Linked DNA regions of Homo sapiens: regions 1, 2, 4, 5, 6 and 7 are each linked to region 3. Evidence: promoter capture Hi-C in human tissues and cell types (Jung and others, 2019). All regions are on one chromosome and are shown on one strand. The core of a region is centred on a gene start or on the middle of the fragment in contact, and the rest is flanking DNA. Distances in the headings are between cores, read along the strand shown. Region 1 overlaps DUSP3 (dual specificity phosphatase 3). Region 2 overlaps GPATCH8 (G-patch domain containing 8). Region 3 holds the start of ASB16 (ankyrin repeat and SOCS box containing 16). Region 4 overlaps MPP3 (MAGUK p55 scaffold protein 3). Region 5 overlaps GPATCH8 (G-patch domain containing 8). Region 6 holds the start of GPATCH8 (G-patch domain containing 8). Region 7 overlaps MEIOC (meiosis specific with coiled-coil domain).

Region 1 (2,919 bases), core at 385-2,884, 390 kb after region 3:
TGGGCAACGCGTGAGTCCCTTTCGCGAGCCCGGCCCCGCCGTCCCTCTCGGGACGCCCCGCCCACCCGAGGCTGGGGTCGGGGTGTCGCGAGTCTTGGGTTGGGGGAGCCCGGGCGCGATGGCCCCTCCGGGAGCCACAGCGGGGGCTTGGGAGGGGCCTGGAGTCGACGCCTACCCCCGCGCGTGGGGCCAAGGAACTGGAACCCTGCCTGGCCGGGCGCGGCCCTTCCCCGTGGCGGGGTGCACGGAGCCCGGGTGGCGCCTGCCCGGGTCCCAGCCGCCACCCGCTTGGGGCTTGGCCTTGGGCGGGGTCGGGGCTACCATGTTCACTTAACAGGTGACCCTCGGTCGCCCGGCCGGTCTCCTGCCCGCGCGTCATGTGACAGCTGCCTGGTTCTGCAGTGAGGTCACCGCGGAATGTCTGCCTTCGCCGCCATGGCAACGGGCCGACGTCACAATTCGGGCATGGAATTTTCCCGGCCCGGCAGTCCCGGATCAGGGAACCTAAACACCCCAAATGAGCGAGTCCGGGGAGCTGGGCCGGGATTTCCAGGCCCCCACCTTCCAGATGTGATTTGATTTACAGGAGATTCTAGAACGGTCCAGTGATAACCCCCCTAAGGACCTGAGCCACCACCTAGAAAAGGCTCTTGACCTTTCACCCCCAGGCTCTGTCACCCAGGCTGGAGTGCAATGGCGAGATCTCGGCTCACTGCAACCTCTGCCTCCTGGGTTCAAGCAATTCTCCTGCCTCAGCCTCCCGAGTAGCTGGGATTACAGGCGCCCGCCACCACGCCTGGCTACTTTTTGTATTTTTAGTAGAGACGGGGTTTCACCATATTGGCCAGGCTGGTCTCTTGGCCAGGCTGGTCTCAAACTCCTGACCTCATGATCCGCCCACCTCGGCCTCCAAAAGTGCTGGGATTACAGGCGTGAGCCACCGCACCCGGACAGTAAGAGATTTTTTTTAATTTAAATTTTAAATTTTTTTTCTAGTAAGAATGTCTAATCAGCAGGAAAGAACCAGTGTTAACATTCTGAGATGTGAAATAGGAGCCTCAAGAAAGAATATATTAGCATGCCTGTACAGCCTTGGAAAGCCTCAAGTTGGATTTTCACGATACTCTGAGGACCCAGTTACCAAAATCCTAAGCTTCATGGCTCAGCCCAAGGATGGCATGTTGAAAACTCAAAACTAACCCTCCTCCCATTTTACAGAGGAGGAAATGGTGGCTCAGAGTGTGTGAGGGACTACAAGGACAGGGTCAATGTCTTGTTCATGTATGTATTTCCTGACCTCCGCTATGACCTGCTGTTTAGCCTGCCAAGGACTGCCACGGAAATGGGGGTCATCATGGAACTAGAAGGGGTCCATCAGGCCCCAGCCTCATGGGGACAGTTCTCATCCATTCCATCATTCATTCACCAGTCTGAGCACCTGCTTTATGTCAGGCACTGTACAATGTTCATTCATAGTAGAGATAGTAATAATGATAATTGTAAATTTTTTGAATGTTGAATTATTAATAGTATTAGAGGCCTGGCACGATGGCTCACGCCTGTAATCCCAGCACTTTGGGAGGCCGAGGCGGGTGGGTCACCTGAGGTCAGCAGTTCGAGACCAGCCTGACCAACATGGTGAAACCCTGTCTCTACTAAAAATACAAAAATTAGCTGGGCATGGTGCCTGGCGCCTGTGATCCCAGCTACTCCGGAGGCTGAGGCAGGAGAATCGTTTGAACACGGGAGGTGGAGGTTACAGTGAGCCAAGATCGTACCGTTGCACTCCAACTGGGCAACAAGAGCGAAACTCCATCTCAAAAAAAAAAAGTATTAGAGAAGGGAGATGAATGGGAGTGACTCTTCAAAGTGTTTTTTTCTATCAGCCACTGCTTCACAGTCTTGCGCGGTGTCCTAAGCAGGAATAAACAGAGTCCCACAGTGTCAGCCAAAGGCTTCAGGAATTGGAAAGCTCTAGAGACACCCTTCCTCTTGCACCAAGCAGCAAGCAGGCCTTGTTAGCCTCAGGAATCCCGCTTGCTTGGGCAGGTTGGCCATTCAGCTGTCATCACTTCCCAAGTGGAAACCAAGGTTGTACACGTCTGGTGTAGCCAGAGTGGCAATTGCTGATGGCCACTGTAGAAAATACATCCCTTGCCCTCTAAGCACCTCTGACCTTGACTTGGCCAGGGGTGTGGGGGTTCCTCAACAGGGAGGATCAGTGAGCACCAAGCACCAAGAGGATTTGGGCTCCATTCCCTTAACAAAATCAGGGCCGCAGCCACGTCCTCACAAGGCAGAGCCAGAGCCTGTGTGAGCCACATGTGCCAGGCCTTGGGGGTTTTGCAGCAGATGTGGGCATGAGGGGCAGAGTGAGGTGGAAGATAGAGCAGGGCTGGATGTCGGGAGAAAGGAGGTCTTCTCCCAGATCTGCCACCAGCAGCACACGGGGCCTGTGCCCATCCCTCTGCTCATCCTGTTGGGCCTGAGTTCAAGCTCTGTTAAGCAGGGATATTGCCATCCTTGTTCCTCACAGGGCTGCTCGCAGTGGGCAAGCAAGATCACACAGGAGGTGGCATTTTATAAAGTATAAACTGCTATTTGGACTGGGATGTTTTGTGAGATGAAATAAAGGGGCCTTTTCACCATTCAGACCAATTATTATTTTTATTTTATTTTATTTTATTTTTCGAGACGGAGTCTCACTCTGTCACCCAGGCTAGAGTGCAATAGCACAATCTCAGCACACTGCAACCTCCACCTCCCGGGTTCAAGTGATTCTCCTGTCTCAGCCTCTGTAATCCCAGAGTAGCTGGGATTACAGGCATGTACCACCACACCCGGCTCACTTTTGTATTTTTAGTAGAGACGGGGTTTCACCATGTTGGCCAGGCTGGTCCCGAACTCCTGACAGGTGAT
Region 2 (2,982 bases), core at 456-2,955, 300 kb before region 3:
GCTACTCGGGAGGCTGATGCAGGAGAATGGCTTGAACCTGGGAGGCGGAGATTGCAGTGAGCCGAGATTGTGCCACTGCACTCTAGCCTGGGTGACAGAGCGAGACTCCATCTCAAAAACAAACAAATAAAAAAACAAAAACAAAAAAAACCAGGAGGGTCTAAGTTTAAGACAGAGCTGTCAGAATCAGCTCCCCAGTACCACATTCTACAAGGTGCATGGTTGGTTAATTGTCTTACACAAGCTATAATTCTGTGGATACTCAACAGTAGCAGTAAATTTAGATGAAATTTGCAACCTAGTATTCATTATTACGATACTTAACAAATATTTTTTAAACCACTAAATTAAATGATATTTAACATATTTTAAGCCTAGAGGGCTACACTGAAATATTTTTGGAAATTTCATTCCTATGGCACATGAGGCTAATGCTATTTTACCTCTCATAATGTCCAGGACTTTTTCTGCCACATATAGCGAGAACAGTATCAGAAGGCAGTCTAATTGAGTAATCATTGTTGAATAATCTCATTCAGTGGGAGTAGAATTGATAATATGCCTTATTTATTAAGTAGTGCTACCTTCTTCACTTAAAATAGCAAATAGTATATAGTACTCAGGCTGGATATTTAATTTTTTTAAATAAATGAATGTTCAGAAATGTATATTAGTAATTACACTTCTAATGAAAATTTACTTCTGAAAGATAAATATATGCATTATTTGTGATGAGATAGTTTAGGTTGTAGGAGAGAACTTCATGGCCTACATTGTATTAGGTAGAAGTAGGGCACAGGATCTGGGAGAATAAACAAAGATGCAAGAAAAAATAAGAAAAAAAAAAAGAAGTATTGACACACAAGATAAGAGGGATCTTATTTCTGTTGCCTGATCATTTGTGAGTAAAATTTTAAGTGTTTTTCTCTTTTTTCAACTTTTTTTTTTTTTTTTTACTTTTTTTGGTCACAGAAAATTTTAAGTTTTAAGAGAAACTCCTACAGTGATTGGCATCAAAGTAGGTAGTGTTCCCTCCCTCCCACCAAACAAAAGAAGTCCCTTATCACCTGAGGAATGCCCACTAAATAATAAGTAAATATTTAATTACATGGCTGGCTGGCTATATTAAGCTGTTTTGTTTTTAGGGGAAAATGGTGTTACTTCTAACACAGAAAGAGTGCTGAATTAAAATCTTTCTCTGCAGCAATATCTATTGAGAGGTGCTGACTGTTTTGCTACAGCATGCAACTCAAAAGTGGCTGAAAATATGCAGCTTTGGGAGTCTACAGATCATTGCAGGAGCTAAAGGTCTAGTCATTTTTTTTTAACCAAAGGTAATCTGCAGCAGCTGGTAACCGTGGAGGTCTCTGCACAGGTTTGTGCCAAGAATATGCCTGTGTGAAGGGTTATTGTGAGTATAGGATTAAGGTCTTTTTATTTTGTAGTAGGCTAAATTTGATGCAAACCAGCAAGATGGGAAATGAGACATGAAGATGCAATAATGTATTATGCTTTTAGTGAACTTCCGAAGCTTAGATTTGTTAGTGAGATATTGGTATTTCAATTTTATTAGGTAAATGTTGAAAATATATCAAAATCCAGTATTTGTAAAGCATTTAATAATATTTTTTGAAGTTTAATTTTCCCTTATTTGCTTCAACCAACCAGATATCTTTCAATGAGATTTTTCCTCAAGAATGAAATATCTTTTTAAGAAAATTATATGAGAATTGCTAAACAACTTGATTATCTCTATTAAAAACAAGTTGAAAAGTGTGAACATTTTATCCCTATTACGAGAAGCTTTGAATTTGAATTTTAAAAATTGTTATTGCTTTATGAGATATTTAGGTCTCAAATGTTATAATTATAACCTCCACTTACTTAAAGACAAAATATTTACAAAACAAAGCTTGATCTAAAGCCATAGCTCCGTCTAGGATTCAATCACAGAAGAATTAATTGGTGTTTTTTAGGATACACGGTCCTTTATGACCTTTATCATAGTTAGAAGATGAGGAATTGGGCGCAGGGGCTCACGCCTGTAATCCCAGCACTTTGGGATGCTGAGGCGGGCAGATGACGAGGTCAGGAGTTCGAGAACAGCCTGACCAACATGGTGAAACCCTGTCTCTACTAAAAATACAAAAAGTAGCCAGACGTGGTGGCACATGCCTGTGCATGTGCTGGGATTACCCAGCTACTCAGGAGGCTGAGGCAGGAGGATTGCTTGAACCTGGGAGGCAGAGGTTGCAGTGAGTCGAGATCACGCCACTGTACTCCAGCCTGGGTGACAGAGCGAGACTCCGTCTCAAAAAAAAAAAAAAAAAAAAGCGCTGGGTGCAGTGGCTCACACCTATAATCCCAGCACTTTGGGAGGCCGAGGTGGGTGGATCACAGGGTCAGGAGATAGACCATTCTGGCTAACACGGTGAAACCCCATGTCTACTAAAAATACAAAACTTAGCCGGGTGTGGTGGCACACGCCTGTAGTCCCAGCTACTCAGGAGGCTGAGGCAGGAGAATCGCTTGAACCCAAGATCGTGCCACTGCACTCCAGCCTGGGTGACAGAGCGAGACTCGATCTCCAAAAACAAACAAACAAAAAAAGATGAGGGATCAGATGGGAGAATGACTTTAAGCTATATAGAAGGCAGAATGCATGCATCATAGACTTAAAACATGTTGTTACTGTTGTGGTTGGAAGTGCAACTACCCATCAGCCGCTAGTCGGTCCTTGCTCTACCTGACTGATTAAAATTCTTTCTTTATGGTTGTCAGGATGACCTAATAGGTTTAAAAATGTAGTGTAAGCTTCAAACTCCAGTTGCTGATGTTTAGTTTGCGCATCTTAAGGATTTGGAAGTATATGTATAATTGGGTTTTGTGATGTTGCATATCTGTCTAGATCTGTGGACTCCACTAGTTCCAAACTGTAATTCTTTATAAGACTGCTGATTTGACATTTAGCAGTGACCATAT
Region 3 (3,023 bases), core at 224-2,723:
GCGACCCCCGACACGGGCATCCAGCTCAGCTCCCTGCCGGATCAGGTGTCGAGCACAGTCTGTGTAGCCTCGGGCTGTAGCGATGGCGAGGGGTGCCGTCTGCTTGGTCTTGGGGGTCAGCACCCAGAACCCTAGGGAGAGCAAATAGTTTTGGGAGGTGGTGTATAAGACAGGGCAGGGCAGGGAGTGGGGATGCTGGTTCCAGCTGACAGCTGACACTGGCCTTCCCTCTGCATGGTTTGCTGAGCACAAACACTGCCAGGCTGTACCTGTGGAAGGGGGCTTATTCAAGTCCTGAAGTGGAAGAATAAATTGGAACAGCCTTTTAATACAGCTTATCAATCTGTAACAAAACATAGTATGTGTCATAAAAAAATTAATTGCTGTATAAAACCACAGGGGCCAACTAAGTAGAGTGACTCCCATTAAGGAAATCTCAGCGTCTTTGAATGGCTAATAGTGTCAAAGGCTTGTTCACCTTGGGGCCTGGGGTGGTGGCTCACACCTGTAATCCTAGCACTTTGGGAGGCCAAGGCGGGATGATCACTTGACCTCAGGAGTTCGAGATGAGCCTGGGCAACATAGTGAGACCTTGTCTCTTTTTTTTTTTTTTTTAGGCAGGGTCTCGCTCTGTCCCCCAGGCTGGAATGCAGTGGCGCTATCTTGGCTCACTGCAAGCTCCGCCTCCCGGGTTTAAGTGATTCTTCTGCCTCAGCTGCTGAGTAGCTGGGATTACAGGTGCGCACCACCATGCCCGGCTAATTTTTCTATTTTTAGTAGAGATGGGGTTTTACCATGTTGGTCAGGCTGGTCTCAAACTTCTGACTTCGTGATCCGCCTGCCTTGGCCTCCCAAAGTGCTGGGATTACAGGCGTGAGCCACTGTGCCCGGTCAACTTTTAATTCTTAAAAGACATACAGACTGCTAACCCTGCCTCATCTCTGTTTAGGAGGGAGCTAGGATAGGTGGTGGAAAGGGCTGCTATAGTCTGTGGTCTGCAGGGAAGGAGGGGCCTAGACTCTCCCCCTTCCCCACCCACTCCCCTTCTTTCTCCCTCCTCTTCTGCCCTCTTCTGGTGCCCCCTACCCTGTTCAGCCGACCAGGCCAGCTGGTTGCTCACAGTCTCCACAATCATGTTGGCGGCCTCTTCATCTTGGAACAGGGCTTGGACCTGCTGCAGGTTGCCGGAGAAGAGGGCTTGGTGGACAGCTGGGTCTCGGCAGGAACGGTGAGGCCTAGTGAGTCGGGCCCGGGGACTTGACGGGCACCTGCGGCTCCGGCACTGCTGGGCAGCCGCCCGCCGCCGGTCCTCCCATTCCAGCCACTCCTGCTGCAGGCGGAGAGAGCGCAGCATGGAGGAGGTGAAGGGGAAGGTCTCTCTTGCCATGGATGGGGCCCAGGGGTTTGGGCAGTGGCACCTGGGCAGAGCCAGGTTCCCTCGACCCGACTACCTCCCTTGCTCTGAGGAGCCACCCTGCCCCCGCCACCGTGAGCCAGAGAAAGCAGCAGCTGAGGCTATAAATAGGTCCTTTGCTGCTCTGGTAAACATGGTTTGCTCAGAGTCATGATCCTGGTGCTGAGAAGCTGCTGGCCCAACCCCCAGCCCAGGGTGAGGGCCAGCCCCTGCCCCTGCCGATACCCTTTGGTTGGTCAGCAGGCCCTCAGCTGAGGCCACCCCCGAACCCCAGCATCTGCATCCACCTTCATCTCTAGAGCGAGCATCTTGGGTTGGCAAGGTCCAGGGTGCGCAAAAAGGTCAGTCATGGAGATGGGCAGGGCTGGGAGGAAGACAAGGTGCCTCCAGCCTCTCTGATGTTGGCTGGAGGGCAGGAGCCACCATTGGCCCACGTGGAGGAGAGAGGGCTGACCTCAGCACAGGAGGTAAGGGGAGGTCAAGGCAGAGTTACTGAGAAGGTGAGCAGCTCTTCCCAGCATCTGCAGTAACAGCAATAACTCTGTACATATGCACAGAGTTTCACGGTGTTTAAATCACATTCATATCCACCTTCACCCAGGGGATCATACTTCCCAGCCCACCCAATAATTAGTAAACTTGGTTTGGACAATAAATGAAATTATCACAGTTGAATGCCCCTGAGATGGGTGGTCTTATCTCTGTTTTACAGATGAGGAATTTAAGGCTTAACAAAGTAATCTACTGGCTCAAGGTCACAGTTTGTGAGAGGCAGAGCCAGGACCCCACATAGATGGTGTGCTTTGGGCCAAGAATGGTGGCTCATGCCTGTAATCCTAGCACTTTGGGAGGCCAAGACAGGAGGATTGCTTGAGCCTAGGAGTTTGAGACAATCCTGGGCAACACAGTGAGACCTATATCTTTTTTTTTTTTTTTTTTTTTTTTGAGACAGAGTCTCACCCTGTCTCCCATGCTGGAGTGCAATGGCACGATCTTGGCTCACTGCAACCTCCGCCTCCCGGGCTCAAACGATTCTCTTGCCTCAGCCTCCTGAGTAGCTGGGATTATAGGCACCCGCCACCATGCCCAGCTAAATTTTGTATTTTTAGTAGAGATTTAATTTAGGGTTTCACCATGTTGGCCAGGCTGGTCTCGAACTCCTGACCTCGTGGTCTGCCCGCCTCGGCCTCCCAAAGTGCTAGGATTATAGGCGTGAGCCACCACCCCCTGCCTCTCCATCTCTTAAAAAAAGAAGAAAAAAAAAAAAAGATGGTACACTTTTTGCCTTCAGCTGCTGCAGCCACCTGGCAGCCTCCCCCATTCTCCAAGCAGGACAGACTAGTCTGTAGAAACTGCCTTCAATCATCCTTTTTTTTTTTTTCTCATGGTGTCACCCAGTCTGGAGTGCAGTGGGGTGATCTCGGCTCACTGAAACCTCCGTTTCCTGGGGTTCAAGTGATTCTCCTGCCTTAGCTGCCTGAGTAGCTGGGATTATAGGTGCATGCCACCATGCCCAGCTGATTTTTGTATTTTTATTTATTATTATTTTTTTTTTGAGATGGAGTCTCGCTCTGTCACCCAGGCTGGAGTGCAGTGGCGCGACCTCGGC
Region 4 (2,950 bases), core at 188-2,687, 340 kb after region 3:
AGGCCTTCACTTGCCCACTACACAGGACTTTCTCTTATGGTGCCCTGTCAGTGGCCCAGTCTGCTGCCCCAAATGTCCCCACAGCCGTGGGTGGGATGTGTGGTGTCCAGGGTGCATCTGAAATACTCTGTCTTTGCAGATTCATGAGAAGCTTCGCTATTATGAAAGGCAAAGTCCAACCCCAGTTCTGCACAGCGCTGTGGCCCTCGCTGAGGACGTAAGCCCCAGGTTTCTCCTTACAGTGTCTGCCCCACTCCCCACCCTGTAGGGCTCCTTCATCTTGCCTCGCTTGCTTAGTGTGGGGACACCGGGAATCAGGAGCCCAAAGGTGAAGAGGTGTTTTCTTCCCTTGTCCTCCTCCTTCTCTTCCTCTCTCTGGGTTCCCCGAAAGGTAGGGAGGAACCCGTGAGCCTTGGACTGGGCTGGGAGACACTGTGACATGGAGCTGCCCACTTACTGTGTGTTCTTTAGCAAGTCTGCTTCCTCTGCTGTAAATGAGAGCATTGGATTGGCTCAGCAGTTCCCAAACTGCCCTGAGGACTGGTGATTTGAATAGGTCAATAAGACATTATGTCTGTGCTTTCCTGAAGTCAAGGGACCTACAGTGTGTCCCCGCATACTGGCTCAGGCTTCTCATTTTTTAAAGGAACGCTTCTTAATTTCTTGTGGACCTAGTCGTCTATGTTGCGTGGTTGGGGAAAACCCATTCTGGTTGATTACTAAGATCAGTTCCTGAATAAACTCACCTAACCCCAGGAGATGGCCTGGGGAGGGATGAGTGCAGCTTGTGGGTGCAGAGCCCTGGGCCCTTCTCCACTGTGGAATGTGATTAGGGGCACATTAGATTGCCTGGCTCCCAGGCTCAGCGCTGCCTGTCCCACCAGCTCTGTGATGTTAAGTAGGCCACTCAACCTCTCTGAGCTCCCATTTCCTCATTCATAAAATAGCATCTGAGAGCCAGATAAGCCCAGGTTCAAATCCTAGCTGTGCTGTATATGAGCTCTGTGACTTCGGGCAAAATGTTTAATCTCTTTGAGTCTCAGGATTCTCATCTGTAAAATGGCAAAGTAACAAGACCCTCTGCATCAAGTTGGTTGCGAGGGTTCAGTGAGAAGATCCACATAAAGCAGAAAGCACGTAGGGCTTAAAACGGTGGCTCCTTGGAGGATGGCCCCATAGAGCTGCTCCTGACCCCTGGTGTGATGTTCCCAGGATCATCGTCGTCGGGTGGTTGAGGGTCTGGTGTGCCCCTGGGGGCTGCAGCTGGGTGGGCCCTTCCAAAGAGGAAGGACCCAGCAGATATGGGGCAGGGGCACCTCTAGCCATCAGTGGCGCCTGTCTCATTCTCTGCAGGTGATGGAGGAGTTGCAGGCCGCCTCCGTGCACAGTGATGAGAGGGAGCTGCTCCAGCTGCTGTCCACCCCGCACCTGAGGGTAGTCACACAGAGCCCCTGCCCAGCCATGCCTCTGGGTCTCCTGGGATGGGGGCGGAGGGAGCTCTCCTAATGAGGCTGAGGAGTGGAGACTGAGGGAGCGATCCTCAGCACTAGTGTCTGGGCAGTTGTCTCTCTGGCATGGCGTCTGCCACCCTCCATACCACCGGCCAGCTGCGGCCTGCTGACCCTGTGAGCGGCGGGCCAGCCTTCCTTTTCTCTGGCTTTCCCGGCAGGCTGTGCTCATGGTACATGACACGGTTGCCCAGAAGAATTTTGACCCCGTTCTCCCGCCTCTGCCTGACAATATCGATGAGGATTTTGATGAGGAATCGGTGAAGATCGTCCGCTTGGTGAAGAACAAGGAACCCCTGGTAGGTGCTGCTGCCTGCCCCTCTCTAACCCACTCTTCCCCTGCCTCTCACCCCCACCCAGAACACTGGACAAGATCCTCCCCGAAGTCTTCAGAGTGAGTGACGGCAGCTTTGCCTGCGCTGCTGCTCATCCCTGTGGTGCCTCTGTGTGCAGGGCACCCCTTTCTCTAGGTGGATACAGCCCCTCTCAACTGTGGCCAACACCCTTTGTGTAGTTAATAACCTGCACAATTGTACAGGGTGACCCTGATCATGCTTTAAGCCAGAAATGGACAAACTACAGCCCAAGGGCCAAAACCAGCCCACAGCTTATTTTTTAAAATAAAGCTTTTTTGGAGCACAACCAGGCCCATTCACTTACAGATTGGCTGTGGCTGCCTTTATAGTGCGATGGCAGAGTTGAGTCGTTGTGACAGAGACTGTGTGGCTGGCCTCAAATATTTACATGTGGCCCCTTATAGAAAACGTGTGACAATGCCTGCTCTGAATGTTGAGGAAGCACAGGGCATTCCTCTCCCCAGCAGACAGACTGCTATCACTTTGGTCCTGGTTCAGCATTGATTTACCGAGCAAAGGGACAGCGTTGTTTATGAGATGCTCAGAAGTGGTGGAAGCCCAGAGAATTGAGATTGGCTCCAGAGGATCCCACAGCTGGCATTCTCTATTTCCAACTTTCCCCAAATGACCTCCGACGAGCCTCTTCTGCAAACAGACGAGGATCTCTCCTCTGCCTCTGTTTCCTCACTTGTAAAATGGAGTGGCCATCCATTGATTTAGCAAACACATTGTGAGCCCTCCTATCCAGGCTCTGTATTGGGTGCTGGCGGTTCAGAGCTGAATAAATGATGGATAGCGATGCTGGAAAGTTCTCAGTTCTGGGGGGCTAGAAGTCCTGAGGTTCTTAGCTGATGGCCTCTCTTTCTAGCAATAATTATCTTACGTACTTCAAATAGATGGCACAGATGATGTTAACAATAAGTGTGCAAATGTGTTTGCAGTTACAGCCACTAATAAGTGGTTAACATATGTTGAGTGCTTACTGTGTACTAAGTGCCTTGAGTGGAATCCTTGCAACAACACTGTGAGTTAAATGCTGTCCCACATCTCACAGGAAACAGGCTTGGAGAGGATAAGAGATTTCCT
Region 5 (3,071 bases), core at 31-2,530, 270 kb before region 3:
GCTACGAACATGTTCATTCTCTGAGTCAACAAATGCTTTTTAACTAAATGCCATTCTGGCCTACATACTGTGTCAGATATGGATATAAACATAAGTAAAACTCAGGGCACAAAAGTGCTACCACTTTTTTTCCCCCCGTGAGATGGAGATTCTCTCTTGTTGCCCCAGACTGGAGTGCAATGGTGTGATCTCGGCTCACTGCAACTTCTGCCTCCCAGTTTCAAGTGATTCTCCTGCCTCAGCCTCCCAAGTAGCTGGGATTACAGGAACATGCCACCACGCCCAGCTAATTTTTGTATTTTAAATGCAGACGAGGTTTTGCCATGTTGGCCAGGCTGATCTCGACCTCCTGACCTCAAGTAGTCTGCCTGCCTTGGCCTCCCACAGTGCTGGGATTACAGCCGTGAGCCACCATGCCTGGCCTTTTTTTTTTCTTTAAACTAAAGACTTAACTGTTTTTTTCCGTATCTCCTCAGCCCCATGTTTTAGACTATTTTACCCCAAAATTGTATTTATTAATTTGGCTTTCCCATTTGAAAAAACAAATTGATCTTAGCATGGTGGTTAGCTTGAGGCAATCTTTAGTGAGTCAGTATAATTTTAGCTAAAACAGTTGTATCTCATGTAAAAGTATGATTTTCTTTAGGTTTTTTTTTTTTAATTGAAAGTAACTCATGAATTCTCTTTATTATCTCTTCTAAGGGCTTGAGGATATCATGTTATCCCTGGATGAGATATCCTTCCCAGGCCTAACATTCTGATTTAACAACACTTTCACTAAAGCCTTTTGCCCCACCTTTGTTCCTGTTTATTAATATATTTAGTTATATGATTAAAATTGAACTATTTTATCCTAGATGGAAAGTATCAGATGGAAATTCGTTTAGGTCATAATTAAACTTGTGTGCCTTAGAAAACATCTGTATTTGAAAATCAAATTGGCCAGGCACCATGGCTCATGTCTGTAATCCCAGCACCTTGTGGGGCCAAAGTGGGCAAATTGCTTGAGCTCAGAAGTTCAAGAACAAACTGGGCGGGCAACATGGTGAAATCCCGTCTCTACAAAAAATAACAAGAATTAGCCACATGTGGTGGTGTGCACCTGTAGTCCCAGCTTCTTAGGAAGCTGAGATGGGAGGATTACTTGAGCCCAGGAGGTTGAGGCTGCAGTGAGCCGTGGTTATGCCACTGCACTCCAGCCTGGGCGATGGTGAGACCCTGTTTTAAAAAATAAATAAAGGAAGAAAAAAATCAAATTAATTTGGTTGTTGTATAGGTCACTAAAAAGGCCATGGCAAGAATATAGTAGGTTTTTGTAGTACTGGATAATTTGAACTCTATTTTGGGTAGAAAGTTTTTCCTTTTTTTTTAAACCTTAAAAACTCTCTAGGGATTAAGTAATGTGCTCAATGTTTTCAGTTAATGTTTTCTGAGAGGTAGCATATATCATATGTTAGAGTTGCTTAGAAAAATATCTAAACGATGCTGAAAGTAATAATTGTTTCTATGCCACCTAAAGACTCATTTTCAGGAGAAATTTGCAAAAATTAAGCTTTGGTTTGGAAATAAATGTACCATTTTTTATTCAGTGTTTCTGAAAGTTTCATGTGATCACAGTTTCAATAAATGAAATGATATTTAAGTCCATTAACATGACTTGAATCCTATTTTGAATACTTTTGCAAATCAGAGAATCACCTGCGTAATTTTTTTTATCTTGATTTTCACATATGTATTTGCATTACTTAAAAAGAAGAAATAAGTACTTTAAAGATGTCAGTGTAGGTTCTTGGCCTTTATCAGTTTAATGGTCTTTTTTCCCCTCTTTTCTCTTTTTCGACAAGGTTTTTCTCTGTCACCCAGGCTGGAGTGCAGTGGTGCGATGATAGCTCACTCCAGCTCCTGGGCTCAAGTGGTCCTTCTGCCTCAATATTTTCAGTGGCTAGGACTGCAGGTGCATGCCACCATGCCCAGCTAATTTTTTTAAGAAAAATTTTTTGGAGAGACAGAGTCTTGCTCTATTGCCCAGTATGGTCTCAAACTCCTGTCCTCAAGGCATCTTCCTGCCTTGGCCTCCCCAAGTGCTGGGATTACAGGCGTGAGCCACCAAGCCCAGCCCAGTTTTAATTGTCTTTTGAAAGTGGATTTTAGGCCGGGCTCATTGGCTTACACCTGTAATCCCAGCACTTTGGAGGCTGAGGTGAGCAGATCACTCAAGCCCAGGAGTTTGAGACCAGCCTGAGCAATATGGTGAAACCCCATCTCTACTAAAAATACAAAAATTAGCCAGATGTAGTGGCAGGCACTTGTAGTGTCAGCTACTCAGGAGGCCTAGAGGCAAGAATTGCTTGAGCCTGGAAGCTGGAATTTACAGTGAGCGGAGATGGCACCACAGCACTCCAGCCTGGGTGACTTAGCAAGATCCTGTCTCAAAAAAAACATGGATTTTGTGACTTTTTGATGGCTTTTATATTTACTTGCACTTCATTAAGGTCGTCTTTAAAGACAACTTTAGATATCTTTAAAAGACAACTTCAGACATTTTTAAGCTTTTTTAACTGCTTATGCATTAGCTTCACAAATGTTCTGTTTTCTCTCATTCTCAGCTGAAGTTCCAGCTGGTCAGATTACTCTATTTTGCCTATTTATTGGTAATTCATGGAACGTGGTGCTGCGGTTGTGGTGTTTTTTTTTTTTTTTACATCATCACTATATGCAGTGCCCAGAACAGTGCCTTGAATATAGTAGAAACTCTCTTTCTCTCTCTCCTTCTCTCTCTCTCTCTCTCTCTATATATATATATATGTATATATATACGTATACATATACACACATATATATGTGTATATATATATTATTTTATTTTATTTTATTTTTGTCTCTTTGAGACAGAGTTTCACTCTTGTTGCCCAGTCTGGAGTGCGATGGTACGATGTCAGCTCACTGCAACCTCCGCCTCCCGGGTTTAAGCGATTCTCCTGCCTCAGCCTCCCAAGTAGCTAGGATTACAGGCATGCACCACCATGCCCAGCTAATTTTGTATTTTTAGTAGATACAGGGTTTCACCATGT
Region 6 (3,099 bases), core at 195-2,694, 330 kb before region 3:
CCTGTAGTCCCAGCTACTCGGGAGGCTGAGGCAGGAGAATGGCGTGAACCCGGAAGGCGGAGCTTGCAGTGAGCCGAGATCGCGCCACTGCACTCCAGCCTGGGCGACAGAGTGAGACTCCTTTTCAAAAAAAAAAAAAAACAAATGAGCTGGGCTTAGTGGTGGGCGCCTGTAATCCCAGCTACTAGGGTGGCTGAGGCAGGAGAATCTCTTGAACCTGGGAGGCGGAGGTTGCAGTGAGCCGAGATTGCGCCACTGTACTCCGGCGACAGTGCGAGACTCCGTCTCAAAAAAAAAAAAAAAAAAAGAATACAATGTTTGAATTCTGTGTGCCCTGCCTCCCCTTAGATGGAAGCGTAGGCTGAAGCATGGGTGGGGCAAAGGGTAACAGCTAGAAAATACACACCCTTCCTCAAAAAATTACATTCCATTTGACTCTTTCAGGGCAGGGTAAGACCCATTTTTCCATTGTGTGATTTCTGTCAACTACTCTTTTCAAAAGGAGAGAAGTCCTGCCACCCTTCTATGTGTTTTATGTATTTTGGCTAAGAGTCCTGGAGCACTGGGTGAGGTCCTCAGAAGGGATGGAAAAATCCGATTCTTGACTCTCATAGTCAGCGCTAGGCAGGAGCATCAGAGATTACTGAATCCAATTTCCCTATTGTATAAAAAGGAAACTGAAGCCCAGAGAGCTTTAGTCGATCTGGATCAACTTCGGTCCCTTGTGAAATACTTCTCTCAAAGGATGGCTCGAAGTCAAGCTCCTTGCAGTCTTTGGGCCTTTGGGTCTAACGTTCCCTATGCCCCAATGCTGTAGGCTCCTCGCTGTGCCTCGGTCAAAGGTCCTTTCAGAGACTGTCCCTCTCAGCACTGTGGCCAGTTTTACTTTTTTGTGGCACTTGTTGATATTTAAAAATATTTATTTTACGAGTTATGTGAGTTCTTCCACTGGAATGAAATCCCCATAAGAGGAGATCATTCCTGTCTCGTTCACCGTTGAATCCTCAGGGTGAGCTGAGATTCGAAGCTAAGCAGTCTGGCTCTAAGGTCGCGCTTTCGGCCCAACATTATGCTGCTATTTAGTGAAGACGATGGACTTCTGCGCACACGGGGAAGCAACAGTGAGAAAAGACACCCGGAAGTGAGCAACAGCAAAACATCCAGATTTGTCCGCACGGTGCCCCCTCTGACCTTTCCCTCCGGAAGCTCTCGCGGCTCTCGGGCGGGAGTGCGCACGCGCGGCCACCGGGGTCGCTCCGGGTCGCGCGCGGAGCAGGGGCTAGAGGGAAGGGTCAGCCTCCAGGGCTGGCAGGCGCCTGCGCCGCGGGGCTCCCGTCAGGACGCGCATTCTCGCTCCCTCCCTCGGCTGCGCGCGCCCGGTGGGCGTGGGAGGAGGCGGGGAACCGGGGAGGGGTGGGTGTCGCAGGAGGGAAGGAGCGAACCGGAGAGCGTCGTCCTGAGAGGAGTGAAGGCGGCAAAATGGCGGACCGCTTCTCCCGCTTCAACGAAGACCGAGACTTTCAGGTAAACACGGGCGTCGCCGAGGATGCGGGGAAGGCGCTGGTCTAGCCCAGAACCTCCTTCATCTCCGGCTCCCAGCCCTCTTTCCTTCCAGTTTTGCTCCGACTTGCGAACCAGCTCGCTCTTCTCCCGTCTCTGCTTTCTCAAGAGGCCTCCCGGCTTGAGGGAGGCCGCATCTCCTCGCACCCGCATTCTCTTACCCCTGAAACTCAGGCCGCGGGGCTTGCGGCTTCCGCCTGTTTGGCATCGGATTTCGGAACCGGGCCTGAGCGCCGTGTGAGGGGCTGTGCCCTCCAGGTCTGCCCGATCTGTGCCGGCGAAGGGCTGGCTCCCAGGGGACAAGAGGGGTGGTTGGGTTGGGCTGAGAGGGCTTGGGGGAGAGTATTGCTGAGGCCAAGGCTTCCGAACCCCGGGATTTTGCTCTCACGGATCCTTTTGGGGTCCTTCTCTTTTCTTTCTTCACTGTGATAAATCAATTCCTTTCATTGTCTGCTTTTCCTCTTCCTTACCTGGGAAAAGGTTGCCTTCGCTATCAGACGCCTTATTGGTTAGTCATACATTGAGATTTCGCGGGGCATAAGTGTTGCTGTTATTAGGCTGTTAATTGGGCTTGGAAAGCAGTAAGTTACTGGACTATGATCCGATGTGAGCCTAACCTCAAATCCTATCTCGAAAGATTTGTGAGAAGCGTGATGATAATAGGCCGTCCACGCATGGGGTCACTAGTGCCAAAAGCTTGATTTTTCTTTCTTCAATTGCAAATGTTAGTATGGAAAAATGCCCTTACGATGGCAAGCTCTATTGAGTAAAAAATAAAGGCCAAATTAGAATAACTTGTTTTTTCGCTGTTGAAAATACCTTTCTGTTGAAATTGTTACCGCGGAAATCTCGAAGACTAAAAGGGATTTAGTAGAGATTGGCTATTTCTAGGTAAAATACATCCGTAGAGTCTCAAAAAAAAAAAAAAAACACTGCATTACTACCGCATATCCTGGCAACTGCAATTTGGGTCGGGATGAATCTCAGAACTCAAGTTTTTATCCCGCTGCAGATCCTACTCAAAGCAGTACGAAAGCACTCTAGATGTGTTTCAGAAGGCAGTTTAAAGAGTTTGAATTCCCTGAGATGATAGGATTGGTAAATAAATAGGTAAAGCAGTTTAACAATTTTAACTCAGCACTGTTAACAGTCTAGTACATAGAACGCTTATGAGAAGTTTTGCAGCAGTAAGGGATCTGGGGGCTGTTAAAAAGCCTTGTGATCATGCGCCTGCTGTATAGCTGCAGCACAATACAGGAGAGTCTCAGGATGTTCTAAGGATATAATGCAGATTCACCAAAGTTTGAAGCAGTTCATGTTAGCCTTTTGATCCCTGAGAAATATATATATATACACACATATATATATATTAGCAAGCACTATAAAATATGAGTTGGCTGCAAGGTGTATGAGCTTTATTGATTTTTAAATTACCGGTAGAGACATACTGATAACTAAAGCCCGCAAATGCTTTTCAGAGGAGAGAATAATCTCAAGGTGACCTAATAAAATCGAAAATAGATAATATGGACAGTTAAG
Region 7 (2,700 bases), core at 116-2,615, 500 kb before region 3:
AATGTAAACCACAATACCACAGTATTTTTCTATCTTTTTTTTTTCAGATGGAGTCTCACTCTATTGCCCAGGCTGGAGTGCAGTGGTGCAGTCTCGGCTCACTGTAACCTCCGTTTCCCGGGTTCAAGCGATTCTCCTGCCTCAGCCTCCCGCGTAGCTGGGATTACAGGTGCCTGCCACCACGCCTGGCTAATTTTTTGTATTTTTAGTAGAGACTGGGTTTCACCATGTTGGCCAGGCTGGTCTCCAACTCCTGACCTTGTGATCTGCCCACCTTGGCCTCCCAAAGTGCTGGGATTACAGGCGTGAGCCACCGCGCCCAGCTATCGTCTTAATACAAATAAAATACCTGAGTATACCAACAGGTTAACACTACAAAATTCAAAGAAATAAACTTGTAACAACTAAGGGGGTAAAAAATCTACTTCAGGGCAAGTCAACTTAGAATAACAATAACTTTAAAATGTCAAGCATTTTTCATCTTCATTTATTTAAGCTTCCCATTGGCCAACCCCATCCATTTTTAGTTTTTAAGTAACCCACTTAATTCCTTACAGTAATGAACTTACAGCAAATCCTGGACATTATAGAATTCAGCTCAGAAATAAGGCAAGTTAGCCGGGTGCAGTGGCTCACATCTGTAATGCCAACACTTGGGACATCAAGGTGGGAGGATGGCTTGAGGCCAGGGGTTTGAGACCACCGTGGGGAACATAGTGAAACCTAATGTCTACAAAAAATTAAAATTAGCCAGGCATGGTGGCATGTGCCTGTAGTACTAGCTACTCAGGAGGAGGAAGGATTGCTTGAGCCCAGGAGTTTGGTTACAGTAAACTATGATTCTGCCACTGTACTCCAGCCTGGGCAACAGAGCGAGACTCTGTCTCTTTAAAACAACAACAAATAAAGCAAAAAGAAATAAGGCAAGTACTCTTACACTACACTAAGGTAAACAGAATGAAGACAGGCAAAAGGAACATACTGTTATTCCTAAGTGGTTAACTTTGTGTTACCTTTTTTCTCTCTTTTTCTAATGCTCTCCATTGTTCACAGCACTCTTCTAGACGAATATGAAGTTCACTGGCTGGTCCACTACGGGTTTTAATTGGTCTTTGAAATCCAAAAGTTGGCATGAGACCAGAAAAAGAATTATCACCATACATCATATTAAAATAAGGGTACAAATGGCTTAAGTCATCATAAGAAAGTAAGTCATAGGAATCCAACAGTGGAACAACTGAATGGCCAAATGGGTGGGTGGATCTTAGGGGAAACCCATTTGAACCAAGTTGTTGAAAACACTGATTATGCCTTAAATCTCCCATCATATAATTATTAGAAAAGCATGACACTTGTGTGCGATTCACACGGCTATTGTCTCCACCTCTCGTTCTGTGGCTATTAGAATGACCCTGTGACTCCAGTAGATCTTGGTATGTATTTTGTGATAAGCCATCTAAATGCTTTGGACCTTCCTCAGGATCATAATGTCCACTCTGGGGCTTGGCTTGAAAATTATGTTTGTTTACATTTTCAATTATCCCATACTTCTGAGCTGAATAGTTATCACAAAATCCATTTGGCTGCTTTATTTTTTTATCCGTAACCAATTTGAAGAGATTTTCTTCTCCAGGCTTTGTTAGTCCTTCTATGTGATTGACAGATTGGATTCTTTCTGCACCACTGTAACTAAAATCAAAACTAGAAAATGCTGAAGGGTTTTCTTGGCAATATTTCTGAAATAAATTGCTATTTGGGGTTAAGTTTGTGGATGATAGTTGGGGGAAATCTGAAGAATGGTTAGAACCTTTTGAAGCTGCACTTAAATGACTATTTAATTTCATCAAGTTACCTTGATTTCGATAAGGAATAGGAGTGTTATTTTTTGTTTGAACATTCATCCAAGTTGGTCTGTTTAAATTGATACCTCCTGAAGATGTTGCTGAGTTTGATAATAAATTCACTGATTTAAAATACTCAGAATGTGGGGGATCAGGTTTAGCAAACTGTTGCTTTTCTGTGACGTTAGCAAAATCATTAGCGGGACAAGCTGTGTGAGGTTTTAGTCCATATTCTGATGTTAAGCCAAAATCAGCAGTGAATACTGCTTCCTTTGCAAACTGTTTCTCTGTCAGATGTGGCGTAGTTTTTGGAAATGTGAAATTCTGCTGATCAGGGATTGTCTCCTCCATTTTTTTCTGATTCGCTGGCTTAACCTGAAATAACTTTGTGTAGGTGTCTGCTTCTACAGTTGGTGTTTCAGGTGTGCCATTGGCTAATTTTTTGCTATCTTGGACACTAAAATTTGAACATTTATTAAGCTTAGCCTTATTAGGATGAACATACTCTGGGTATCTACAATAATCTACATTTTCATTGTATCTATTAAATTGAGAAAGAAACATCTCTGCCCTTTTTTGCTGTAGTGGTGCTTCAAGACCTTTAGTACATATTCTGTCTCTTCCATAATGGTAGATATCAACTCCTGATTCTTTCATGATATCAGACAGACCAGTTTGGGGTGTAAAACAGTTTTTGATAAGTGGATATTCTTGGAATGTTGTCTTAGCTGTATCATTTGTCTGAATATTGTGACAGTTAGAATGATCACTTCGTGAGGGGTACATCCATTGTTCTTCAAGATCTAAACCAGTAAATCCATGATGAAGTTCATCTATTTTTTGTTGTGGTGTGAGATTA

What was found. The method cuts DNA at HindIII sites, captures the fragments that hold promoters and counts their contacts. A contact is called where the count stands out against the background at its distance.
Region 1: a contact is called between a fragment that was not itself captured here and the fragment with the promoter of ASB16 in region 3, in 1 of the 25 tissues and cell types used here (dorsolateral prefrontal cortex).
Region 2: a fragment that was not itself captured here is called in contact with the fragment with the promoter of ASB16 in region 3 in 1 of the 25 tissues and cell types used here (dorsolateral prefrontal cortex).
Region 4: a fragment that was not itself captured here is called in contact with the fragment with the promoter of ASB16 in region 3 in 1 of the 25 tissues and cell types used here (IMR-90 fibroblasts).
Region 5: a contact is called between a fragment that was not itself captured here and the fragment with the promoter of ASB16 in region 3, in 1 of the 25 tissues and cell types used here (lymphoblastoid cells).
Region 6: a contact is called between the fragment with the promoter of GPATCH8 here and the fragment with the promoter of ASB16 in region 3, in 1 of the 25 tissues and cell types used here (lymphoblastoid cells).
Region 7: a contact is called between a fragment that was not itself captured here and the fragment with the promoter of ASB16 in region 3, in 1 of the 25 tissues and cell types used here (dorsolateral prefrontal cortex).

Annotation. Positions count from the first base shown.
Region 1 is chr17:43,775,891-43,778,809 of GRCh38, reverse strand. It overlaps DUSP3 (dual specificity phosphatase 3), which reads left to right. Exons shown (of 3, transcript NM_004090.4): 1 at 1-10. Among named protein-coding and RNA genes, the nearest start is that of DUSP3, 1.6 kb to the left of the region's middle. RefSeq lists a silencer at 1-342 and an enhancer at 275-569. The HindIII fragment of the contact is 3,547 bases long and covers 1-2,919 here.
Region 2 is chr17:44,469,846-44,472,827 of GRCh38, reverse strand. The region is part of intron 2 of GPATCH8 (G-patch domain containing 8); the gene reads left to right. Among named protein-coding and RNA genes, the nearest start is that of GPATCH8, 32 kb to the left of the region's middle. The HindIII fragment of the contact is 3,729 bases long and covers 1-2,982 here.
Region 3 is chr17:44,169,154-44,172,176 of GRCh38, reverse strand. ASB16 (ankyrin repeat and SOCS box containing 16) reads right to left here and starts at 1,473. Exons shown (of 5, transcript NM_080863.5): 1 at 1,087-1,473; 2 at 1-131. The coding sequence starts at 1,387. The HindIII fragment of the contact is 17,920 bases long and covers 1-1,866 here.
Region 4 is chr17:43,828,511-43,831,460 of GRCh38, reverse strand. MPP3 (MAGUK p55 scaffold protein 3) reads left to right here. Exons shown (of 20, transcript NM_001932.6): 5 at 140-217; 6 at 1,354-1,434; 7 at 1,670-1,807. Among named protein-coding and RNA genes, the nearest start is that of MPP3, 3.2 kb to the left of the region's middle. The HindIII fragment of the contact is 3,501 bases long and covers 1-2,950 here.
Region 5 is chr17:44,441,843-44,444,913 of GRCh38, reverse strand. All of the region lies in intron 3 of GPATCH8 (G-patch domain containing 8), which reads left to right. Among named protein-coding and RNA genes, the nearest start is that of ITGA2B, 54 kb to the right of the region's middle. The HindIII fragment of the contact is 3,607 bases long and covers 1-3,071 here.
Region 6 is chr17:44,501,751-44,504,849 of GRCh38, reverse strand. It overlaps GPATCH8 (G-patch domain containing 8), which reads left to right and starts at 1,444. Exons shown (of 8, transcript NM_001002909.4): 1 at 1,444-1,524. The coding sequence starts at 1,480. RefSeq lists a silencer at 1,161-1,510 and an enhancer at 1,611-1,710. The HindIII fragment of the contact is 22,919 bases long and covers 1-3,099 here.
Region 7 is chr17:44,666,547-44,669,246 of GRCh38, reverse strand. MEIOC (meiosis specific with coiled-coil domain) reads right to left here. Exons shown (of 8, transcript NM_001145080.3): 5 at 1,014-2,700. Among named protein-coding and RNA genes, the nearest start is that of MEIOC, 11 kb to the right of the region's middle. The HindIII fragment of the contact is 5,508 bases long and covers 1-2,700 here.